3 separate regions of the Homo sapiens genome follow, and all the other regions are linked to region 1. Evidence: promoter capture Hi-C in human tissues and cell types (Jung and others, 2019). All regions are on one chromosome and are shown on one strand. Each heading gives the region's core, a stretch centred on a gene start or on the middle of the fragment in contact. The rest is flanking DNA. Distances are from core to core; before and after follow the strand shown.

Region 1 (3,345 bases), core at 278-2,777:
TGGTTTCCAAGCCAGTTGAAATGTGTTCTGCTGCATCTTATATGAAAGTCACATTTTATGAATCAGAAATTCCCTTTTGCACATTTTAGGTCAAAAATACCAGGGAGGCCGGGCATGGTGACTCACACTTGTAATCCTAGCTCTTTGGGAGGCAGAGGCGGGAAGAGTACTTGAAGCCAGGAGTTTGATACCAGCCCCAGCAACACAGCAAGACTGCATCTCTACAAAGAAAAAAAAAATAAAAAATTAACTGGGTGTGGTGGTAGTCTTAACTACTCAGGAGGCTGAGGCAGGAGGAAAGGCAGGGAGAAAGTAAACAGATATGTGCAAATGAGACTTCCATTATGCATATTATTCGCAATTAAATCTCATTATTTATGCCCTTCACTGGAAAAAAAAATTACCTTTAATTGCACAGATCATTTATAAAAAGACTGTTGGAGTTATGCTCCAAAGCCCACAATGACAGAGATAGTGTGTCAGAGGGACACAGGAGTCAACTGAAAGAGTTCCCAATAGCCAACACTGGAAAAATTTGAGCAACAAAATAAATAAAGTAGCATTGAATTAAAGCTCAGTGGACGAGGCTGATCATGGTGGCTCACGCCTGTAGTCCCAGCTACTTGGGAGACTGAGGCAGGAGTACCACTTGAGCCCAGGAGTTTGAGACCAGCCTGAGCAACTTAGTGAGACCCTGTCTTTATACAAATAGAATTGTCTGGGCGTGGTGGCTCACTCCTGTAATCCCAGCACTTTGGGAGGCCGAAGCAGGTGGATCACCTGAGGTCAGGAGTTAGAGACCAGCCTGGCCAACACGGTGAAATCCTGTTTCTACTAAAAATACAAAAAATTAGCCGGGCATGGTGGCACATGCCTGTAGCCCCAGCTACTCAGGAGGCTGAGGCATGAGAATCGCTTGAACCTGGGAGGCAGAGGTTGCAGTGAGCTGAGATTGTGCCACTGCACTCCAGCCTGGGTGACAGAGGGAGACTCAGTCTCAAATTAAATAAATAAATAAATAAATAAATAAGCCAACTGTGGCGGTGCACACCTGTTGTCACCATATACTTGGGAGGCTGAGGGAGGAGGATCATTTGAACCCAGCATTTTGAGGTTACAGTGAGGTGTGATTATACCACTGCATTCCAGCCTGGGCAACAGAGCAAAACCCTCTCTCTTAAAAATTAAGTCAAAATCTTTGCCGGGTGCCATGGCTCATGCCTGTAATTCTATCACTTTGGGAGGCTGAGGCAGGCAGATCACTTGAGGTCGGGAGTTTGACATCAGCCTGGCCAATATGGTGAAAACCTGTCTCTAATGAAGATAAAAAAATTAGCTGAGAGTGGTGGCGCACGCCTGTAGTCCCAGCTACCAGCTACTTGGGATGTTGAGACAGGAGAATTGCTTGAACCCGGGAGACAGAGGTTGCAGTGAGCCAAGATTGCGCCACTGCACTCCAGTCTTGGCGATAGAGCTAGACTCTGTCTCAAACAAAAAACAAAGAAAACTCCCTTCATTTTCATGTAATCTTATTTATTTCCTCAAGAAGGGTAGATCTTTTAAGACTTTATTCTTTGCAGTTACAAACATACAATAAAAAATTTAGTGGCTTTACTTTCATTTGATTCCATTTTACAAATGGAATCAAATCGTATGAATTTTAACTTGCTTTTTTTAGTTTATTATCTTAGAAAACTTTCTGTCAGTATATATCAAGCTTTCTTTTTAACTTGGTCTAAAGTAGTGGTCTTAACTTTTGGTCACATACTCAGAATTCTGATAAATTCTGTCTCTTTGTACATTAAGTTTACATCTAAAATTTTGTAGCAAAAGTTTAGTTGTAAAACATGTAATTTTGAGAATGTTTTACTTTTGCCACATAAAAATAAGTTACCTCATTCTGCTAAATGTATCCAAATGCTTCTAAATATATAGCATTTTGGTTTCCATCATCTAGTTTAAAAATATACGAACAAGCTGTTCTTTATCATTGGAAATTTAAATTCTTCTTTTGAGTCCTTGAACTTTTATTTCCATAACATGTCTCAGACTTTTATCCTAATGTAATATATTTTTATGCTTAAAAGTTTTTTCTTGATTGTGCTAATATGTTTCTGCTACTAAATATGTATGTAAACTTAAATTTTAATTTTTAAAGTTCCTGTGACAAAGGTTCTGTGTTTTAACTTGGTCCAGAGGAAATTTATCAGTCTATTGCATGTATTATGTTTTTTTTAAATCTCCCTTCATTTTCACTTAATCCTATTTGTTTCCTCAAGAAGAGTAGAGATGGGCTTTACTGTGTTGACCAGGCTGGTCTCGAATTCCTGGCCTCAAGTGATCTGCTCACCTTGGCTTCCCAAATTGCTGGGATTACAGGCATGAGCCACTGTGCCCGGCCAACATAGGTTGTAATTTTTGATGTTATTACTATACAAGTTGAATTTTATTGGAAATGCTTTTCTTATGAGATGATGGGGTCTGTTATTTTTCTCAATTAAATCATGGGTCTGTGGATCAATATTTCTTTCTCTGATGAAATAGGATTGGCAATTTTTCCTGTTTTTGTAGCTATCATAGTGAAGAAACCCTAATCACATAGGTAAATATATGGGAATAAAGCTTTTTTTTTTTTTTGGGAGATGGAGTCTTGCTCTGTCGCCCAGACTGGAGTGCAGTGGCACGATCTCAGCTCACTGCAACCTCTGCCTCCCAGGTTCAAGCTATTCTTGTGCTTCAGCCTCTAGAGTAGTTGTGATTCACACGCCACTATGCCTGGCTAATTTTTTGTATTTTAGTAGATATGGGGTTTCACCGCATTGGCCAGGCAGGTCTCGAACTCCTGACCTCAAGTGATCCACCTGCCTCAGCCTCCCAAAGTGCTGGGATTATAGGCTTGAGCCACTGCACCTGGCCAGGTTCTTTTTTATTATTATTATTTTTTATTACGAGATAAGGACTATAGGCGTGTGCCACCACACCCAGCTAATTTATTTATTTATTTATTTATTTTTAGAGATGGGGTCACACTATGTTGCCCAGGCTGGTCTCAAATTCCTGGACTCAAGACACCCCTCTGCCTTAGCCTCCCTAATAGCTGGGACTATAGGCATACCCTAGGGTGTCTTGGCCTTTATCTATATTTAGCTATTAGATACCTGTTATCTTCCTGTATCGGTAACACGAAGTGCTCTCATTTCTTTTATTACTGTGTACTATTTTACAATATTATAATCTGTTGGTGGACATTTGTTGTTTTTAAGCAGTGCCATCATAAACATTCTGTTTATATTCACTTTTTTATACTTTTATGTCTCTTTTTGAACTAAATACCTAAAACTGATT
Region 2 (3,083 bases), core at 106-2,605, 350 kb before region 1:
AAGATCGCTCTCCCATTGTGTAAGATGCTCTCCTCCCCTAATTTCTACCCAGTTTACTACCCCCTGCAATACAATCTCCAAGCCTTGGCTCCTTGGCCAGGCCCTTAGAACTGATAACCCAGTATTTTAACAACTGGAACTGAGTCTACAACAACATAATAGATCAGGATGAAAACGAATTTGAGTAAATTAAAGGGAGGCACATGTTCCTATAGTGGCAAACTGGGGCAACAAGTGAACGTCCTTCCACTGCGTTTCCAAAATCCATCTAAAAAAAGACAGACAGAGAGAGGAAGAGGCAGAAAGTCAAAGAGAGAAAGAAAGAAAAAAGGGAAAGAGAGAGGTAGTAAAGAAAAAACAGTGTACCCTATTCCTTTAAAAGCCAAGGTAAATTTAGAACCTATAATTGATAATTAAAGGTCTTCTCCACGACCCTATAATACTCCAATACTACCTTGTTGTCAGTGTAAACAAGGGCGTAGCCCGAAAACACTGAGACCACTGACAACCCATAGCCTTCCTATCAAAAATCCTGAACCCAGTAACCCGTGGATGGCCCAAATGCATTCAATCTGTAGTGGCAACTGCTTTGCTAACAGAATAAAGTAGAAAAATAACCTTTAGAGGAAACCTCATTGTGAGCACACCTCACCAGTTCAGAACAATCCTAAGACCAAAAAAAAAAAAAAAAAAAGGTAGCTTACTAGCTCAAAATTCTTAAAGTATGGGGCTATTCTGTTAGAAAAAGGTGATTTAACACCAACCACTGATAATTCCCTTAACCCAGCAGATTTCCTAACAGGGGATTTAAATCTTAATTGCCATGCAAAGGTCCAACCAGACCTAGGAGGAACTTCCTTTAGGATAGGACGATAGATGGTTCCTCCCAGGCGATTGAGGAAAAAACCACAATGGGTATTCAGTAATTGATAAGGAAACTCTTGTGGAAGCAGAGTTAGGAGAATTGCCTCATAATTGGTCTGCACAAACTGCGAGCTGTTTGCACTCAGCCAAGCCTTAAAGTACTTACAAAAAGAGCAAGCCCATCTTTTTCTCCTCGCTCTCCTTCTCGTAGGAAAAAGGCACATAGGATAAACAGGAGCCATCTCTCATATTTCGTACCCAAAAGGACTTAATCCAGGGCAACAAAATCTTAAGTTCGATAATTAAGGCATATTCCTACAAAGGAAAAGGACAAAGGCCCTAGTGGGCAAAAACTCTATCTCAATCCTGACTCAAAAGGTTACCTACACCCTCTCTGAAACGAATTTGCATAAGAACTGTTGTTTATGAAAATGCATCTTGATGGGGCAACTGGGTTGTTATGAAATACTCAGAAACCCAGCCCAGCTCTAGAACTCACTCCTGAGTGCAAAGGCAATGTCAGGCACGCTGGTAAAGGACCACTAGAATCCAGCAGCCCAGACCCCTTTCTTTGTGGTCAAGAAGGGCAGGAAAACAGGTGCAGGACTGCTACATCGGTGAGTGTAACTAATCTGATAAGCAGAGGTCCGTGGGTGGTTACGCACCCTGAAAAGGAATAAGCATTAGGACCACAGAGGACGCTCTAGGACTAATGCTCATCAGAAAATGACTAGGGGTGCTGGCATCCCTATGTTCTTTTTAAACGTTCCCCCCTCCCAGGCAAAAACGCCCCTAAGATGTATTCTAGAGAATTAGGACCAATTTGACCCTCAGATGCTAAGAAAGAAACGACTTATATTCTTCTGCAGTACCCCTGGCCACAATATCCTCTTCAAGAGGGAGAAACATGCCCTCCAAGGGAAGTATAAATTATAACACCATCTTACAGCTAGACTTCTTTTGTAGAAAATAGGGCAAATGGAGCGAAGTGCCATATGTGCAAACTTTCTTTTCATTAAGAGACAACTCACAATTATGTTAAAAGTGTGATTTATGCCCTACAGGAAGCCCTCAGAATCTACCCCCCTGCCCCGGCGTTCCCCCGGCTCCTTCCCCAACTAATAATGACCCCCCTTCAACACAAACGGTGCCAAAGGAGATAGAGAAAGGGGTAAACAATGAACCAAAGAGTGCCAATATTCCCAGATTATGCCCCCTTGAAGTGGTGGGAGGAGGAGAATTCAGCCCAGAGTGTGTGTACCTTTTTCCCTCTCAGACTTGAAGCAAATTAAAATAGACCTAGGTAAATTCTCAAATAACCCTGATGGCTATATTGATGTTTTACAAGGGTTAGGACAATCCTTTGATCTGACATGGAGAGACATAATGTTACTGCTAGATCAGATACTAACCCCAAATGAGAGAAGTGCCGCTATAACTGCAGCCCAAGAGTTTGGCAATCTCTGGTATCTCAGTCAGGTCAATGATAGGATGACAACAGAGGAAAGAGAACGATTCCCCACAGGCCAGCAGGCAGTTCCCAGTGTAGACCCTCAATGGGACGCAGAATCAGAATGTGGAGATTGGTGCCGCAGACATTTGCTAACTTGCATGCTAGAAGGACTAAGAAAAACTAGGAAGAAGCCTATGAATTATTCAATGATGCCCACTATAACACAGGGAAAGGAAGAAAATCCTACTGCCTTTCTGGAGAGACTAAGGGAGGCATTGAGGAAGCATACCTCTCTGTCATCTGGATCTATTGAAGGCCAACTAATCTTAAAGGGTAAGTTTATCACTCAGCTGCAGACATTAGAAAAAAACTTCAAAATCCGCCTTAGGCCTGGAACAAAACTTAAACTAAGAACTTGGCCTCAGTTTTTATAATAGAGATCAGAAGGAGCAGGCAGAACTGGACAAACGGGATAAAAAGAAGGCCACCGCTTTAGTCATGGCCTTCAGGCAAGTGGACTTTGGAGGCTCTGGAAAAGTGAAAGGCTGGGCAAATCGAATGCCTAATAGGGATTTGATTCCAGTGCGGTCTACAAGGACACTTTAAAAAAGATTGTCCGAATAGAAATAAGCCACCCCCTCATCCATGCCCCTTATTTCAAGGGTATCACTGGAAGGCCCACTGCCCCAGGGGATGAAGGTCCTCTGAGTCAGAAGCCACTAACCAGATGATCCAGCAGCAGGACTGAGGGTGCCTGGGGCAAGCG
Region 3 (3,225 bases), core at 22-2,521, 400 kb after region 1:
CATGAGGAGTTTACCAGGCAGGAGAGGTGGAGACGCTAGGCTAGGCAAATAGGCTGCAGCCATAGTTCTGCTGAGAAACAGGTTTTGAACCAAGGCAACTCCATCTGGAGATATGTATCAGAAAGATTAGGAGATAGAATCTCCATCTTGGTCACTTATTTGGTCTTCTAAGACAGCAATGGGACCGTCTCTTAAATACTGGAGTTGTCCTATCTCCTTGGGCTGATACCCTGAACTGTCATTTGGGTGAGTAACACATTAAGGGGTAGACGGTCGGTTTGGGGGAATAAACTAAGTAACTAGGTTGCGGTTCCTCCTGCCGACTAAGCAGACCTCCTGGTGCGTGGTCTTGGGTTGCCCTGTGAGCCCTGAAGCTGTGAATGGGCCCCACAGATCACTCTAAAGCCAAGCATCCATGTGTGCCCGGCTGGGGATCTAGACCCCCCTGGTCTACCCAGGAACCTGAGTTTTGGTGGTCTGAGACACCTGGGGGACGACGTATCCCGGAGAAGGGACCAGGATTAAAGGCCGCTCCCCAGGCTGCCCGGAGACTAGAAGGAAGGCGAGGTAGCCGCAGTCCCAGGGAGGGTCTTACCCCTTGCTCCCGGGATGCGTTATGGCGGGCCTGGCTGTGCGAGATCTAGGCTAGTGGCTTTGGCTGCGAACGGATTAGATCTGATCCGATTAGAGCCTGGGCGGTCGGCTTCGCCCCCTTGCCAGGCTCTGCCAACGCCCGCCCCTCCCTCGTGGAGACCCGGAGACCTCCCTGAGAGCCTTCCCGCCCGGAACACGGGATTGGTGCAGAATCCGAGAGGCTCCATGCGCCCCGGGCCTGGCTTGTTTCCACAGTGGGGGCTCGTGCTTCCGCCCCCTGCGGCTCTTCTGGACCCCGCCCCGACCCTGCGGGTAACTGGGCCCGCGACGTCCCCGCCTCCGTGCTTGCCGCGTGGCGGGTGGGTTCCTCCGGGTCGGGGCCCCGTGCCGCCTGTTCACCTGGGGCGGGACCGTGGCCCCATCCCACAGGTCTCCCGCCCGTGCACCTGCCGCCTAACGCCGCGCGCCGCGCCGTGCGCCTGCCTCGCGCTCCCCGTCCGCCTGCCCCGCACTCCCCGTCCGTGTGTCTCCTAGTCCCCAGCGAGGGGTCTGTCTGTTCCCCTGGCAGGCTGACCAAGGGGCCGGCGTCACCGCTACGTGCGGCGGGGCCGGCGCGGCGGGCGGGGTGAGGGCGGCGCTGAGCGCAGCGGCGGCAGCGGCGGCGCGGGAGGCGGGGAGGCGCGGCGCGCCGGGGACAGCGGCGGACGGCGGCGGCGGCGGCATGCGGCTCCTCGCGCTGCCCATCGTGGGCTGAGGCGGCCGCAGAACCGGCGGGAGGCGCGGCGGCCGGGCGAGCCGAGGGCGCAGCCAGCCGGGCGGACCGCGGACAGCGGTCGGGGCGCCGCGCCATGGGGCGAGCCGGGGGCGGGGGCCCGGGCCGGGGGCCGCCGCCACTGCTGCTGTTTCTGGGGGCCGCGCTGGTCCTGGCCTCTGGGGCCGTGCCGGGTAGGTATGACTGCGCCCGGGACCCCCGCGGCCCTCGTGCCCCACCCAGGGCAGGGGTCCCGCTGGCGGCGGGGACAGGTGGAGCTGTGAGCTGTGGCAAGGGGGCGGGGCACCGCCTGGCCGCGGCCGGGCGGCGGAATGGTCCCAGGAGGTGGTGGGGGTCCGGGAAAGGCCGACCCGCGTGGGGGCCGACCCCGGTTGGGGTAGCCGGGACCCAAGCGCGCGGGCCGCGGTGCGGACTGGGGGCGGGGCCGGGGGCGGGGCCGGGGCGGGGCCGGGGCGGGGCCTGAGGGTGAGACTTCGGGGCGGGACCTGGAGCTGAGGGCGGGAGCCAGTGGACGCGGCTCAGGGTGGGTTCCCGAGGGTGAGACTTATGGGTGGGCCGAGCTGGGGGCCGCCCTGGCCTGGCTCTTCAGACGGCGGGGCAGGTCGGGCGGGGCCGAGCCGCGAGGCGTTGGGCGGGGTGTGATCCTCGTCTTGGGGGCAGACTCCGGGACGGGGCTTAGAGGTACCGGGTGGCTGGGGTCACACTGGGGCGGTGGGGTCTGAGGGTGGCGAGGTCTGGGTTGACCAGGTCTAGGCGAGCGGGCCTGACCGGGGCGGGCCGGGGCTCCAGGGCTCCTCAGCGCGCCGCCCTGACGTCCCGCCCCTTGCCCTCCCGCCCGCAGCGCGTGAGGCGGGCAGCGCGGTTGAGGCCGAAGAGCTGGTGAAGGGCAGCCCGGCGTGGGAGCCGCCTGCCAACGACACGCGGGAAGAAGCCGGCCCACCAGCGGCTGGGGAAGATGAGGCGTCGTGGACGGCGCCCGGTGGCGAGCTGGCCGGGCCAGAAGAGGTGCTGCAGGAGTCGGCTGCGGTGACCGGCACCGCCTGGCTGGAAGCTGACAGCCCAGGCCTGGGAGGAGTGACCGCAGAGGCGGGCAGCGGCGATGCCCAGGCCCTTCCAGCTACGCTCCAGGCTCCCCACGAGGTCCTCGGGCAGTCAATCATGCCCCCTGCCATTCCTGAGGCTACAGAGGCCAGCGGGCCACCCTCCCCCACCCCCGGCGACAAGCTGAGCCCAGCTTCTGAACTCCCCAAGGAGAGCCCCTTGGAGGTTTGGCTGAACCTGGGGGGCAGCACACCCGACCCTCAAGGGCCAGAGCTGACTTACCCATTTCAGGGCACCCTGGAGCCCCAACCGGCATCAGATATCATTGACATCGACTACTTCGAAGGACTGGATGGTGAGGGTCGTGGCGCAGATCTGGGGAGCTTCCCAGGGTCACCAGGAACCTCAGAGAACCACCCTGATACTGAGGGAGAGACCCCTTCCTGGAGCCTGCTTGACTTATACGATGATTTCACCCCCTTCGATGAATCTGATTTCTACCCCACCACATCCTTTTATGATGACTTGGATGAAGAGGAGGAGGAAGAGGAGGATGACAAAGATGCAGTAGGAGGTGGAGACCTAGAAGATGAAAATGAGCTTCTAGTGCCCACTGGGAAGCCTGGTCTGGGGCCCGGGACAGGCCAGCCCACCAGTCGGTGGCATGCTGTCCCTCCACAGCACACTCTGGGGTCGGTCCCCGGCAGCAGCATCGCCCTCAGGCCCCGCCCAGGAGAGCCAGGCAGGGACTTGGCCTCCAGTGAAAATGGCACTGAGTGCCGCAGTGGCTTTGTGCGGCATAACGGCTCCTGCCGGTC

The links. The method cuts DNA at HindIII sites, captures the fragments that hold promoters and counts their contacts. A contact is called where the count stands out against the background at its distance.
Region 2: the fragment with the promoter of SPINK8 here is called in contact with a fragment that was not itself captured in region 1 in 1 of the 25 tissues and cell types used here (dorsolateral prefrontal cortex).
Region 3: a contact is called between the fragment with the promoter of CSPG5 here and a fragment that was not itself captured in region 1, in 2 of the 25 tissues and cell types used here (liver and lymphoblastoid cells).

Annotation. Positions count from the first base shown.
Region 1 is chr3:47,981,059-47,984,403 of GRCh38, reverse strand. The region is part of intron 2 of MAP4 (microtubule associated protein 4); the gene reads left to right. Among named protein-coding and RNA genes, the nearest start is that of MAP4, 34 kb to the left of the region's middle. The HindIII fragment of the contact is 4,461 bases long and covers 1-3,345 here.
Region 2 is chr3:48,331,933-48,335,015 of GRCh38, reverse strand. SPINK8 (serine peptidase inhibitor Kazal type 8 (putative)) reads left to right here and starts at 1,355. Exons shown (of 8, transcript NM_001080525.3): 1 at 1,355-1,481; 2 at 2,545-2,650. RefSeq lists a silencer at 810-1,010. The HindIII fragment of the contact is 10,965 bases long and covers 1-3,083 here.
Region 3 is chr3:47,576,911-47,580,135 of GRCh38, reverse strand. CSPG5 (chondroitin sulfate proteoglycan 5) reads left to right here and starts at 1,271. Exons shown (of 5, transcript NM_006574.4): 1 at 1,271-1,539; 2 at 2,208-3,225. The coding sequence starts at 1,443. RefSeq lists an enhancer at 1-646 and silencers at 1,771-1,820, 1,861-1,920, 1,971-2,060. The HindIII fragment of the contact is 21,614 bases long and covers 1-3,225 here.